3 separate regions of the Homo sapiens genome follow, and regions 2 and 3 are each linked to region 1. Evidence: promoter capture Hi-C in human tissues and cell types (Jung and others, 2019). All regions are on one chromosome and are shown on one strand. The core of a region is centred on a gene start or on the middle of the fragment in contact, and the rest is flanking DNA. Distances in the headings are between cores, read along the strand shown.

The links. The method cuts DNA at HindIII sites, captures the fragments that hold promoters and counts their contacts. A contact is called where the count stands out against the background at its distance.
Region 2: a fragment that was not itself captured here is called in contact with the fragment with the promoter of PLCXD3 in region 1 in 1 of the 25 tissues and cell types used here (mesendoderm cells).
Region 3: a fragment that was not itself captured here is called in contact with the fragment with the promoter of PLCXD3 in region 1 in 3 of the 25 tissues and cell types used here (dorsolateral prefrontal cortex, heart left ventricle and hippocampus).

What each region holds. Positions count from the first base shown.
Region 1 is chr5:41,507,906-41,512,583 of GRCh38, reverse strand. PLCXD3 (phosphatidylinositol specific phospholipase C X domain containing 3) reads left to right here and starts at 1,983. Exons shown (of 3, transcript NM_001005473.3): 1 at 1,983-2,160. The coding sequence starts at 2,058. RefSeq lists an enhancer at 1,629-2,457. The HindIII fragment of the contact is 4,804 bases long and covers 1-3,760 here.
Region 2 is chr5:41,087,995-41,092,672 of GRCh38, reverse strand. All of the region lies in intron 3 of LOC105374739 (a long non-coding RNA gene), which reads right to left. Among named protein-coding and RNA genes, the nearest start is that of MROH2B, 19 kb to the right of the region's middle. The HindIII fragment of the contact is 5,349 bases long and covers 1-4,678 here.
Region 3 is chr5:41,252,059-41,256,736 of GRCh38, reverse strand. It overlaps a transcript of C6 not described here. Among named protein-coding and RNA genes, the nearest start is that of C6, 41 kb to the right of the region's middle. RefSeq lists an enhancer at 3,710-4,242. The HindIII fragment of the contact is 4,857 bases long and covers 157-4,678 here.

The sequences.
Region 1 (4,678 bases), core at 734-3,233:
TAAGCTCAATATACTTTAACAGGGCATGTTTCTAAAATGTGTCTTATTAAAAATGTACCCCAGATTCAATAATTATTTCATGCTTTTGAAAAAAATACTTCATAAGTATAGAAAAGACAAAGAGTGGTAAATACACATATCCTGTTATCTTAAACATGTATGCACTCTCTTCTGGAAGCTTCACCACAAATCTCTGAGTTCTTATTACCACTTTATAATGGAGAAAACTGGGGCTAGCAGAGACTAGAGGACTTGCCCAAACTACTCAGAGACAGAGCAGCTGACCACTAGATTTGAATTTTCCTCATTGCCTTGCAATCATGCCCTGAGACCACCAGCATTAGGTGGTGTTTGTAGGTTTCTTACAGAAGGGTGGTGTTTGTAGATCTCTTGACCAAGAGTCCTATAGTAAGCTAAACTATCATCCTAATTAAAAGGATATGTGGGTTCTATTGTACTAGCATGTATATTAAGATTTATTTGGGGAAAATTTTCAGTATATCTCTTCCTCATCACTAAAGATAACTGTACCATGTCCTCTTGAAGGTATGAATTTATTTTACAAGGGGCATGGAAAATTTGATAACCAAAATAAGGCGTTGCCTCTCCTCTATCTTTCCCATAGTGCTCCCCATTTGGGGGTGAATATTCTTAGGACTTAGCATCATTGTAGAAAATAAGGTAGGCTCTAGGTTTTTTCTTATTTTTTAATGCTATTTGGGATTAAATGGATTTACTAACCTTGAATAATTATTCTCATGTTTCATGGCTCTCTTTGTCTCCTATGTTGATTGTCATTTCCGCAATCTAATAGCATTTCCCATAGAAAAATAAAAATTTACACAACCCTGGCATGAAAGAACAGAGGTCTGTTTATTGCATTTCCATTTCCTGGGTTGCAAAAGCCCAGCACACTTTCAGTTCATCTCTTATAATTCCTATTCAGGCCACTGCTGCTCTCATTACATTTGTAAAACTTCATCTCTCTCCTTTTACTCATCTGAGAGCAGGTGGACCCAGACAGTTCTTTGGAGGCCCAGTGAGTGATTTCTCTTGAGAGAGGCACATCTTTCCAGTCTGCAAAGGAATGAAAATGCAGACAGTCACATAGATCACTTTGAATGGTGCCAAATACATTCCACCAAATGCTACTGGCAATAATTAGAGCATGTCACTGGGAGATGTGGCGATTTTCTTCCAGCATAAGGCTCCAGTCTTACCCTGAGTGCCATGAAACTGACAGGACAGAGGCAGTGTTCTCCATGGAAATAATGTAGACTTCTCATGATCTGAGAAAAGAAGGGGGAGTAGCATTTCTTGACTTTGAAATGTCTGGAGCAAGGTACCCAGGATTAAGTAGGAACCACCTAGAATTTACCATGCCCTTCACTGACTCATACTTACCAGCTATTTCACAAAGTAGGCAAAAGAGTGAATAAAGATAATCATTTTTTAATAAACAGGGTTGTGGTCTCTGGCTGAGGAAAGGTATAACCTGTTGTAGATTACAAAAAGGAAAGCTCTTTGATAAGGACGGAAAGCCCTGAAACCCAGCATGAGAAGTCTGTTCCTCAGGAGGCAATAACATCCCAAAGTCTGCTAGGATTTTAGGTTCAAGTGCAAGACTGTCTTTCATACAAACAGGACGAGAAAGTCACAGCAAAGGATCGAGCAAGCCATGGGCAAAGCAGTTGGAAAAAAATGAATAGAAAAGAAAAATAAGAAACCAGGGAAAGCTGCAGAATGGCGAGGAAAGGCAGAGACGCCTAGGAAGGATAAGACGGGAGGAGGGGGTTGGGGAGGGAGGGGAGAGCGGAGAGAGCTGAGCACGGACGTCAGGAACAAAAGCTCCAGCGGAGTCTGGCGGAGGCACTAAGGGAGCACGGGGTGTTTTGAATAATTATTAAAATTAGCATGTGTCTGCGCCATCCTGTGGGTGTGGCGCAGAGAGGAGTGTAAACTCTAGCGGGGCTAGAGCAAACATTGGATTAGCGGCAGCAGCCTGCCAGCCTGCCCGAGGAGTGCTGGGACCAGCGCGCTGCACGCCGACTGGCACGATGGCCTCGTCTCAGGGGAAAAACGAGCTGAAATTAGCCGACTGGATGGCAACTCTGCCGGAGAGCATGCACAGCATCCCCCTCACCAATTTAGCCATTCCAGGTAGGCGCGCAGGGGCTGCGGGCTAGGCGCTCGGCGCCCGCTCCACCTGCCCCGCCCTGCTTTATCTGCCACTAAGTGGTAACTTGCCACGATGCCCGCGGGAGGGAAACTCGTCTTCCAGGGTGGGTCTCAGGCCAGGCGAGCGCGTGCCGGGTAGCCTTGGGCTTCCTGGCGTTTTCCAAACCCCTAAGGACCGAGGCGCTAGAGTCAAGGTGACTGCTTTTCTCCTGGGCTTTTGAAGCAGGTTGTATGCGGAGGACTGGGGCAGAGGAGAAGCTGGGCTCCAGGATGGTGCCTCGTGACCCCCTCCTATGGTTTCTCCTGCAGATTTGGGGAAGTGGGAGAAATCTCTGGGTCTGCGGGGTGACCGTGTGTGAAGAACGCGAGCTAGTGTCAGGGGCTCGCCTTCGGTGCAAGGACCTGAGTCTATCCCTGGCATGGAATTGGGCGGATTTGATAGATTCTCGGCTACAGTCATTAATATTCGTCCCCAATCTCCTTTAAAAAGACAAAGCGCTTCCCGAAGAGTGATGAAAGTTCAGGGACCAGAGGCGGCGTGATAGCTGCCCTTGAAAAGGAGCCCAAGGGGGCGACGGGCAGAGGGCACCATTTCGTATCGGTTTGGACCCCGGGGGACCTGGCCGAGTGGCCGCTGTCTCGAGTCTGGTCCAAGTGCGTGTTGGCAACACACTTCGCCCAGGTCAAAAAAGCAAACCCTTGCGGACCGTATGTTTACTGCTCGGGACAGAAGCTGGGCAGGGGAACCTGCGTGACCTGAGCGGAGGGGTGGGATTAATAGGCAAATAGTACGGAAAAGGTGACTGAGAATGTGTCCAGACAGTCTAGAAGGAAAGAAGCGTGGACAAAGCGAGGAAGAGACCTGAGGGATCAAGAAGCTTCAGCTTGATGTGTGCGACTTGGACCAGAGACTGGGCAGGTTTCTAGGGTGGCAGCTCCTAACAACCCCCTAGATCAGGTATCCAGGAGTGAGGGTCGTTTCAGGACAGTTTACAACAATGACAGCTGGGACACGGCCATACTTTATTGTCAATTTGGCTATGCAGTTGGGCTGGGGGAGCACACACTTGATCTTTTCAGAGCTGGGCTGGAGGGCAAATTACTCATGAACAGTTCACTTCTGGCCCTGAGCTGAGCTGGGCTATTAAACTCAACGTTATGGTCTACCTCCTCTTGATCTGCCCCATCCAGCGCCCCCTCTCAGCTGTTGGAGGAAAACATAATAAAGAAAAAAACAACAAAAACAAAAACAAAAGAAGGGTTATTTTGAAAATCACTAGATGCTCCAACCAAGAGTGCTGCCATTGATCAGTCCCTCAAATCAATGGTTGTTAGTCAAGTGGATGTTTGGCAGCAATGGCAGGCACAGGCTACTACAAGTGCTATCCACAGAAGGGGCTGTCTCCTTTCGTCCTTCTTCAACAGATAGCTTGCTACCGGCCAGGAATCTCCAAGGAAAAGAACCAACCCCAGCTTCTCCATGCAGCACTTATTCTGCTACCTAGGCAAGCCTGGAGATTGCTCTTTTCAAGGAGACAGTAGAAAGCACAACTTTGGCATAACTCCATTCTCACTTCCACAGGCATTCCCATTCCTTTTCTTCCTTCATTTTTATTTGGATTTTAGACAGCTTCTTTCACATGGTTTCCCCTGAATGTTTTTATATGCATAGAAGGTAAGAAGGGCAATCACTGTGATGCAAACCTTCTGGCAGGTGACTCTCTAGAGCTACAGGATTAAAAGCCTATGTTTGTTTATCTAGTTCTGAGATGGTATGATATCTTTTTGAGTCTACCTTACATTTCTGTAATATTTCACTTTTCAAAGCCCTGTTATGTACACCAGCTCACAAAATCCTTCTAAAACCCCATGAAGCAGGGAGTGCTGGCACTATTACCTCCATGTCACAGATGAAAAAACTGAAGCTAAGTGAAGACAAATGACTTACTATTTATCCCTATCAGTTCAGGGATCTGACCCCTTACTTGGACCTTTGGGAAGATACCCTATGAATTTTGGAGGGAAAGGCTTTGTGATTTGTATCTGGATGATTCAGCAGCAACTGTGACTAACCAGGGTTAAGAAAAAAGGAACTAAGCATTAGTGGGAACACAGTAATTTTCCTTTCCTGCCCTGGGACAAAATAAAAACCTGAGGTGAGAGATTTTGGTATCTGGGTGATCTTAGAGTACAGACATAAAGATGATGACATTGGGCTTCCATGGGAATTTATATTGTTTTCCCAGCTCCTGTTGGTATTATACTCAAATGGATCTCCTGTAAAGCTTCCCCTTCTCACTCCAATACTTGTGAGAAAAAATAGACCAACATTTTTCATCAAATCTATACTCCTGAATACTCGCATGTTTCTGTAAATTTGTTTGGAAGATCCACATATATAAAAAACCAGGTTTAAAAACAGGTTTGGCACCTTTTTGCATTACTCAGCACTAAGAATTTTTGGAGGAAAAAAAGATATTCAAACTTTGATAGTCAGAGA
Region 2 (4,678 bases), core at 1,387-3,886, 420 kb after region 1:
GTCAGTGTTGCAAGGGGGTCATTGATAACAGATAAAAGGGATAAAGCTGGGTGATTCAATCTTAAGTGGCTTCCAACCTCTCCATGAATGAGAATTACTTTTGAAGGAAAAGTTAAAAGAAGCAAAATTAGGCAAGACAGATGAGAGTAGTGAGCAAGTGCCTAGCCAAGTTAACGGAAGTCAAAGCTTCAATTGGAGTTAAATCACATTTAACTTAACTCCTATTTGGGATTTCTTGGGCTTCATGGATCTGGATGTTCATTTTCTTTAGATCTGGGGATCTTTATTTAAACAGCTTCTGCCTCCTTTCTTTTTCTCTGCTTCTTCTGCAACACCCATAATACGTATATTGGTTCATTTGCTGGTGTCCCATCACAGGCTTTCCTTATTCTTTTCAATTTTTTCTTTTTATTTCTCTGAGTAATTTCAAATTCTTATGCTTTATCAAGTCTGCTGTTGAAGCTATGAAATTTTTTGTTTCATGCATTGTATTCTTTGGTTCTAAAATTTCTGCTTTGTTTTTTGTGATTTATATCTCTTTATTGTACTTCTCATTTGTGTTTTGCTTTTCTGATTTTATTTAGTTGCTTATCTGTGTTCTCTTATATCTCACTAAAATGATTATTTTGAATTATTTATCAGGTAGTTCACGCATTTCCATTTTTAAGGTTACTGGAGCTTCATTTTATTCCTTTGGTGATATAATGTTTCCCTGATTATTTCTGATCTTTGTGGCCATGCATTGGTGTCTGCACATTTGAAGAAGCTGGTACTTATTCTGGTCTTTACAGATTGGCTTTGGTCAGCAAAGCCCTTCTTCAGTCAGCTCATTCAGAGATCATGAGTAGGCTTGCTGTTGGAGCCTTCAGGCAGGCAGGACTGGTGCCTAAGTCTGCAAGGGATAATGATGTGCCTGGATTTGTGAGGCCCAGTCTGGAGTCTGAGTCTGTAGGTGTGGCCTGGAGCCTGAGGCCGCTGGGTCTGGTCTAGCATTGGAGAAGACCTGGAAGCTCAATTCACAAGTGCCAATCTAAAACCTGAAGCCTTGAGCACAAGGCTGGCACTCAGTTTTATTGGGGCAGGCCTGGTGGTCAGGTCCACAACAAAGTCTGGTGCTCACTTCACTCTCCTACTCAGAAGCAGAGTATATCTTTCTCTGTGCTGTGCTAGCTAGGCTGTGGGAAAGGGTGCCATGTGTAATTTGAAACTGTCATTCCTAATCTCTTCAATGATTTTTTTGTTCTTATTTCTGTATTATACCCAGGTGCTATAATCTCTCACCTAAATTCCTTAGCTCTTATGAAGGTATTTTTGCACACTGAGTTTTTCAAACTGATGTTTCTGCAAAGGGATGAGCACAAACAATCCTATTCTACCATCTTGCTGACATCACTAGGCTACGTTTTTTTAATTATTATTATACTTTAAGTTCTGGGGTAAATGTGCAGAACGTGCAGGTTTGTTACATAGGTATACATGTGCCATGGTGGTTTGCTGCACCCATCAACCCATCATCTGCATTAGGTATTTCTCCTAATGCTATCCCTCCCCCAGCCACCCACCCCTGACAGGCCCCAGTGTGTGATGTTCCCCTCCCTGTGTCCATGTGTTCTCATTGTTCAACTCCCACTTATGAATGAGAACATGCAGTGTTTGGTTTTCTGTTCTTGTGTTAGTTGGCTGAGAATGATGGTTTCCAGCTTCATCCATGTCCCTGCAAAGGACATAAACTCATCCTTTTTTATGGCTGCATGGTATTCCATGGTGTATATGTGCCACATTTTCTTTATCCAGTCTATCGCTGATGGACATTTGGGTTGGTTCCAAGTCTTCGCTACTGTGAATAGTGCCGCAATAAACATATGTGTGCATGTGTCTTTATAGTAGAATGATTTATAATCCTTTGGGTATATACCCAGTAATGGGATTGCTGGGTTAAATGGTATTTCTGGTTCTAGAACCTTGAGGAATTGCCACACTGTCTTCCACAATGGTTGAACTAACTTACACTCCCACCAACAGTGTAAAAGAGTTCCTATTTCTCCACATCCTTTCCAACAACTGTTGTTTCCTGACTTTTTAATGATCGCCATTCTGACTGGCATGATATGGCATCCCATTGTGGTTTTGATTTGCATTTTTCTAATGACCAGTGATGATGAGCTTTTTTTCATATGTTTGTAGGCCACATAAATGTCTTCTTTTGAGAAGTGTCTGTTCATATCCTTCACCCACTTTTTGATGGGTTGATTTTAATTGGATTTAAAATCTCTTTCACTCAAATATAAATTAAGGAGGGTCTTATATTTTGGCAGTTCAAGTAAAAAAATCTATGAGTTAATTTGAGCATAGAAACACAATGCAATTGAACTGCAAAGTTTAAAACCTTACATCTTAGGCTAAACTAAGAGAAATTTGATGTTCGTATCAGTATGAAATATTCTGATCAGTTATTGATAACATAGAGGGGCCTCTAAACACTATCAATCATTCAGAGAAAGTGAGAAAGACAGTAAGAGAGTTGGAAATCAAATTATTAAAGGAACTATTAAGAGATCATTTAGAAACTTTTTCCCTAGAAAATAAAAAATCTTTGAGGTGTAGAGCATTTCTGAAAATCTTTTTAAATATTTTAAATACCACTATACAGAAGAGAGAACATAAATTTTTCCTACTACAAAGAACAGAAGTATGGCCAAAGATATGATTTTCAAAATTAAAGAAATTGTCTCATAAGGTTGAACTTTCTAGTAATTTGAGTTGCGTCAAAATGGAATAGTCTTCCTGTGTACAAGTAGCAAAGTCTCTGTCCCTGGAAGTTTTTAGCATAAGCCCAGTCACCATCTGCTAAGAACAGGATGGGGATTAGGGGAAGGAGAAGGGAGTCTATAGTAGGAAAGAGGTTCTCTTGTATGAGCATCTAATTTTAGATTGAAAAATCCTCCAATTTTAAGGTCCTTTCATCCATACATATTACTCCATATACCAAAAAAAAAAGAGAGAGATTTCCTAGTAATTAGCCTGGTGATATTCCTGCAGTGGAGAAAGTTATATCCAACAATGAAGTCAGCACAAATTGAAACAAAATGGCCCCTGTGAGAATTGCTAATTCAATACCTAAATAAAACTGTATACATTTAAAAGTGCATAGTACTTATTTAATAAATTTTAAGTGATATTTCTTGACAGACAAGATAAATATTTAAGTGCCAACTTTACAACCACAAATCTGTCTAAATACCATAACTGTACAATGAGATACTTTGCCAATTTATAATGCAAATAAGGTATACAGACTTACATCCATGCGTGCTTTTTAAGGAATTCCTTCTTAGATTGTATCAATTTGTCTTTATAAGTGTTTATAGCTGAATTGTACAGTATTGATGTCTTTAAACTTACTTTTTTCTTTTCCTTGATACTGCTTTTTTTCTCATACTATGATTATTTCATTGCATCAAAAACTAATATGTTCCAAATAGCACAACTAAATTATTTAGATTGTATTGATGATTCAATTTGACAATGAGGGAGAAATTTTTTCACTCTTTACATAGAAATCAAATTAATAAAGTCCCAATTAAAATATATATATTTAAAGAGATTTAAGAGACATATTGGCCAGGTGCAGTGGCTCACGCCTGTAATCCCAGCACTTTGGGAGGCCGAGGTGGGTGGATCACGAGGTCAGGAGATCAAGACCATCCTGGCTAACACGGTGAAACCCCGTCTCTACTAAAAAATACAAAAAATTAGCCAGGCGTGGTGGTGGGCACCTGTAGTCTCAGCTACTCGGGAGGCTGAGGCAGGAGAATGGTGTGAACCCAGGAGGCAGAGCTTGCAGTGAGCTGAGATCACGCCACTGCACTCCAGCCTGGGCAACAGAGCGAGACTCCATCTCAAAAAAAAAAAAAAAAAAAAGGAGACATATCAACTAATTGCAATAGATGAGTCATAACTTGATCTTATTTAAACAAACTCTAAATATAATGATACTATGAGAAAATTGAGCTCTGACTAGGTCTTATTTTTTCTTGGCATACTCTTTTGAACCCTTACCTTTTAGGAAAAAAAATGTACAATATTTAGGAATGAATTATATAATATCTGGTATTTGCTTCAAAATAATACACGAATGAAGTAAATAGGGATAGAAATAAAACGTGATGAGCAATAACTTGATAATTATTAAAACTAGGATGTAAACATATACAATCATTCATTATACAATTATCTCTATTTTATATATGTCTGATAATTTTCATATTTTAAAAATAAAGTCCAATCTCAGTTAGACATTTGTCTCCCAAAGTCCTCAACCAGCAACCATCGAACTTTCTCATTTCACTGCATTTTTTTCCAAACTCCTATATTTTCCCAAATAATTCCGCTCTCACCTCACACTTATAATCCTCAAAAAGAAAAACAAAAGTCTTGTTACTAACCAGCCCCAGCCTGGAAAGAGCACATTAAAGATTATCATTAATAATTATGCTTAGAGCCTATCCCTTGATATCTTGCTTCTCACACTAAAACATATGTTTCATCAGCTAGCCTATGTGTGGTTCTCCTTGTATATCATTACACTAGGATTTTTTAAACAAAGAAAATGTGTTACCAAAAATTTTATTATCAAAACAGCATCAAAGTTATTGTGTGTGTGTATGCATGCACATAC
Region 3 (4,678 bases), core at 1,336-3,835, 260 kb after region 1:
AAAAAGAAGGTTGGCTTGGAATACGGTGCAGTTGGCAACATTATTGAGGTCATTAGAGGCAGGATATCGTAACATAAAACCAGGCAAGCTTTATGCCAGAGAACTTATATCCAACATTGAGAAACCCCTGTGTGATACAAAGATTAGCTGTCATCAAACCACAAAATTCTCTCAGCAGTGGGGCCCTCTGATTTCAGTAACTGAAAAGGTGACGTTAAGGGAAGCTTAGCAGTCTGGGTGGTGCAGTCCAGCCTGAGGCCTGTAGAATCTAAGACTCTTTTTTTTTTTTTTTTACTTTTTTTTTTTTAATTATACTTTAAGTTTTAGGGTATATGTGCACATTGTGCACGTTAGTTATATATGTATACATGTGCCATGCTGGTGTGCTGCACCCACTAACTCGTCATCTAGCATTAGGTATATCTCCCAATGCTATCCTATACCCAAATGACTATAAATCATGCTGCTATAAAGACACATGCACACGTATGTTTATTGCGGCATTATTCACAATAGCAAAGACTTGGAACCAACCCAAATGTCCAACAATGATAGACTGGATTAAGAAAATGTGGCACATATACACCATGGAATACTATGCAGCCATAAAAAATGATGAGTTCATGTCCTTTGTAGGGACATGGATGAAACTGGAAACCATCATTCTCAGTAAACTATCGCAAGAATCTAAGACTCTTAACCCCAAATTACATCTAACATGACATTTGCTCTCACTGCACAGCAACCTCATGATACTAACTTGTCAAAAGTTGGGAATGTAACCCCATACTTCCTTTCTGTTAGCACATCTCCACTCACAGATGCTTAGACATCTTTTCACAATGATTTTGCCTTACCTGGGAACTATTCCCTCTGTAGAGGCTGAACTATAAAAATAAGCTCTTTACAGTAATATAATCTCCTTATTGGACCACAGGTCAACTCCTGACCAAGCTGGCCACTCATATTCCCTTCTCTGGGAATTAAGAATTGGAACTGCCAATTTGTTTTTACTTTTGACAGACCTATAGCACGTAAATTCAGTTGTGAAACATTGTCTTCCCTTCATAGACCACAAAAATCAAAAGCCAATCAGGGCAGGTATAAGAATGCATATTGTAGGCAGAGAGAAGTGGAGATATGTTCAGGCTTCACAGTTTCCTATTTCCTGATTAGAGTCCCTTCCCAAGGCTTGGCTTCATGACTGTCATTGATTCCATAAGACACACTTGTACTACTATATATATTTCCTATAAGTAAGCCCTTGTCTCCGTTACTTGCAGCCCAAAGAGTCCAATTTCCCTTCTACCAAGAATATGAAAGAATGAAAGTGGATCTTGTGTAACCATGTTAAGACTCTTATCTTTTTTTTTTTTTTAACGGAATCTCACTCTGTCTCCCAGGCTGGAGTGCAGTGGGGCGATCTCGGCTCACTGCGGCCGCCGCCTCCCAGGTTTAAGCAATTCCCATGCCTCAGTCTCCCGAGTAGCTGGGATTACAGGCACCCACCACCATGCCCGCCTAATTTTTGTATTTTTAGTAGAGACAGGGTTTCACCATGTTGGTCAGGCTGGTCTTGAACTCCTGCCTCAAGTGATCTGCCCACCTTGGCCTCCCAAAGTGCTGGAATTACAGAGATGAGCCACCATGCCTGGCCAAGACTCTTATCCTTTTTTAAAGTTAATTTCTAGTTGGCCCCTCAAAGCATTTGTTCTCTGGGAAGTTGATGTGGATGACCAGGAATCAGACATGAGCACCTATGCATTATACTCTGGGTCTTCACCAATTTCTTGCAAAATTTAAAGTGACACAATCCCTCTATACCTGTCTACTCATTTGCAAAATTATCTAGGAGACTAAAACGCTTTCACTGAGATCCATAGTAGCAGAAGTCACATAAACTCTTGCAGGACTAGTCACTGTGTGCTTCCTGTAAATCTTGCTTTCTGGATTGCAACTGTTCTTCAGTTAAAATTTTATAAAGATAAAATGTTGTCAATTTGATTAAAGTCTATTCCAACACTGTATTATGATTTCCTTTCTATAGGGATCACTTAACATTTACATTGAGCTGAAATACACAGTGGTAATCTCTGATCTATCAGATAATAATTAGAATAATTGTGAAGGTTCTGTAAAGGGAGTTATCAAGGTTCTCTTCACTCTCCACTTGGTAGCTATATAATGAGGCTGGTGATATAATCTATAAGTAATATTTTAATTAAACCTAAGAAATGGAGGCTATACATGTAGGTACTTCTGTAGAAACTCTATTTTACTAGCTAAGGAGAAGACAAAAATTATAAAACTATTCTTTCTCTTTCTTTTTTTGAGATGGAGTCTTGCTCTGTTGCCCAGGCTGGAGTACAGTGGTGCAGTCTCGGCTCACTGCAAGCTCCACCTCCTGGGTTCACGCCATTCTCCTGCCTCAGCCTCCCAAGTAGTTGGGACTACAGGCGCCCATCACCACACCCGGCTAATTTAATTTTTTGTATTTTTAGTAGAGATGGGGTTTCACCGTGTTAGCCAGGATGGTCTCGATCTCTTGACCTAGTGATCCACCCACCTCGGCCTCCCAAAGTGCTGGGATTATAGGTGTGAGCCACCATGCCTGGCCAAAACTATTCTTTCTTTTCTATGTAATAATTTTTTCCTATATATATTGCAGTCAGGAACGTACTTTTATACATAAGTTATTCCTAGAAACATGTACTATTAATAAATAAGGCCAACTGTGTGAAATTTGCCCATATTTGCAACTTTTAAGGTTGGGATCTATACTTAGAGAACTTGGAATGTTATAAAATCCCAAATTACACATTGCCTTTTGGGCATAATTATCAAAATATTTTTTCACTGTTGCATACAATGTATTTTTTACAACTCAAAAACACCTTTAGGAAGCACTATCAATTTAATTACAGCTTTGGAGAAATTACAATAAAAATACCATATTTTTAAAAAACACTTTCTTTATTGTTGATGTTGATATAAACAATAGCACATATTATCCGTACAATTACATTCCACTCTGGATCAAGAAAGCGTAACAAGGACAATCCAAAATAACCTAAAAACAAGCTAAATAAAACAATGGTTTTTCAGCCATTGGACCCTACACTCTATAGAGCAGTGATTCCTGGGAGAGAGAAAACAAATTAGGTGGGTCCTACAATTGCCCTAGTTTACAGCCTTGATAAAAGTTTTTAGGCCTCAAGAAAAGGAGGAAAATCCCAAGTGGAGCCTGGGAGTCTCCCAGAGTTAAGAAAACAGACTTGGGACTGTAAGGATGTACAGCCAACTAGAGTTCACAGGGCAGGGTAACAAAAAGGAGAGAGCTACACAGAGAGAGATTTATGAGATAAAAATTTGGTGAGGGCCCTCCTCCAGCCTTTGGGTGAGTATCAGTCAGCTCACAGGTATGAGGAAACCACCTGAGGCCCAGCAAAGAACCACCCAAGAGGTTGGATTACAGGTGAAAACCACAGAGCTCAAACAAGGTTGGAGATGTTTATATTCCTACCAGCCAGAAAGGAAAAATCCCATGCATAACATAAATGAAGAAAAGTATACCAAGGGACTTCATAATCAAATGCTTAAAACAATTACATGTCATTCTTAACATATAATCAGATTTCAATTCAAGCCCATGCCTTCTTCCCCTCTTCAAAAATATTTGAAGAAGTTTATTCTGAGCCAAATATGACTCAAATATGACAGACCATGGCCTGGAACACAACCTCAAGAAGTCCTTAGAACATGTGCCCAAGGTGGTTGAGTTACAGCTTGGTTTTACACATTTTAAGGAGACAAAAGTTACAGGCAAAGACATAAATCAATAAATGTGAGGTATATATTGGTTCAGCCCACTCACATGCCAACGGTGGAGTCAAAGATTTTCTGATTGGCAATTGGTTGAAAAAGTTAAGATAAGGGGAGCTGTGGAAGCCAAGGTTCTTGTTATGTAGATGAAGCCTCCAGGTAGCAAGCTTCAGAAAGAATAGATGGTAAATGTCTCTTATCAGAACTTAAAAGGTATCAAACTCTTAAATTTCCCCTGAATCAGGAAAAGACCTGGAAAGGGAAGGAGACTCTCTACAGAAGGTAAAATTCTCCCAAAAGAGATGGCTTTGCAGGGCCATTTCAAAATACATCAAAGAATTACATTTTGAGGTAAAATATTTTTCTTTTCTTCAGGACCTGCTATCTGTCATTAGATGCTATCTATATCAGAATCAGGTTGGAGTTGGGTATCTCACTGCTACAAAGAGTCTGTCTTGTAGGTCTTATGGTCTCTATTTTAATGTTAGTGCTGGTCAGTTTTGCCTCAACTCCAAAGGGAGGGGTATAATGAGGCATAACTGACCTCCCCTCCCAACAAGGCCTGAACTAATTTTTCTTTGAGATCCTCTTGGCCAAGGAGGGGGGCCATCCATGCAGACTGGTGGAAGGCTAAGAATTTAATTTTTGGCTTACATCTTGTTTCCAGAATCTCTACCAGCCAAATGAGGTTAACATATTTCTTTGAATACACAATGCTCATGCTTTCCAATGCTTTAGGAATGTCTATTTATATTAGTTAAAATAGGGCCAAGTTTGAAAGTGAATCACAGAATATTTGCAAACCACCTTTAAATGGTCTTAGGTATCTGAATTTGCATATTACCTTAACAAATCT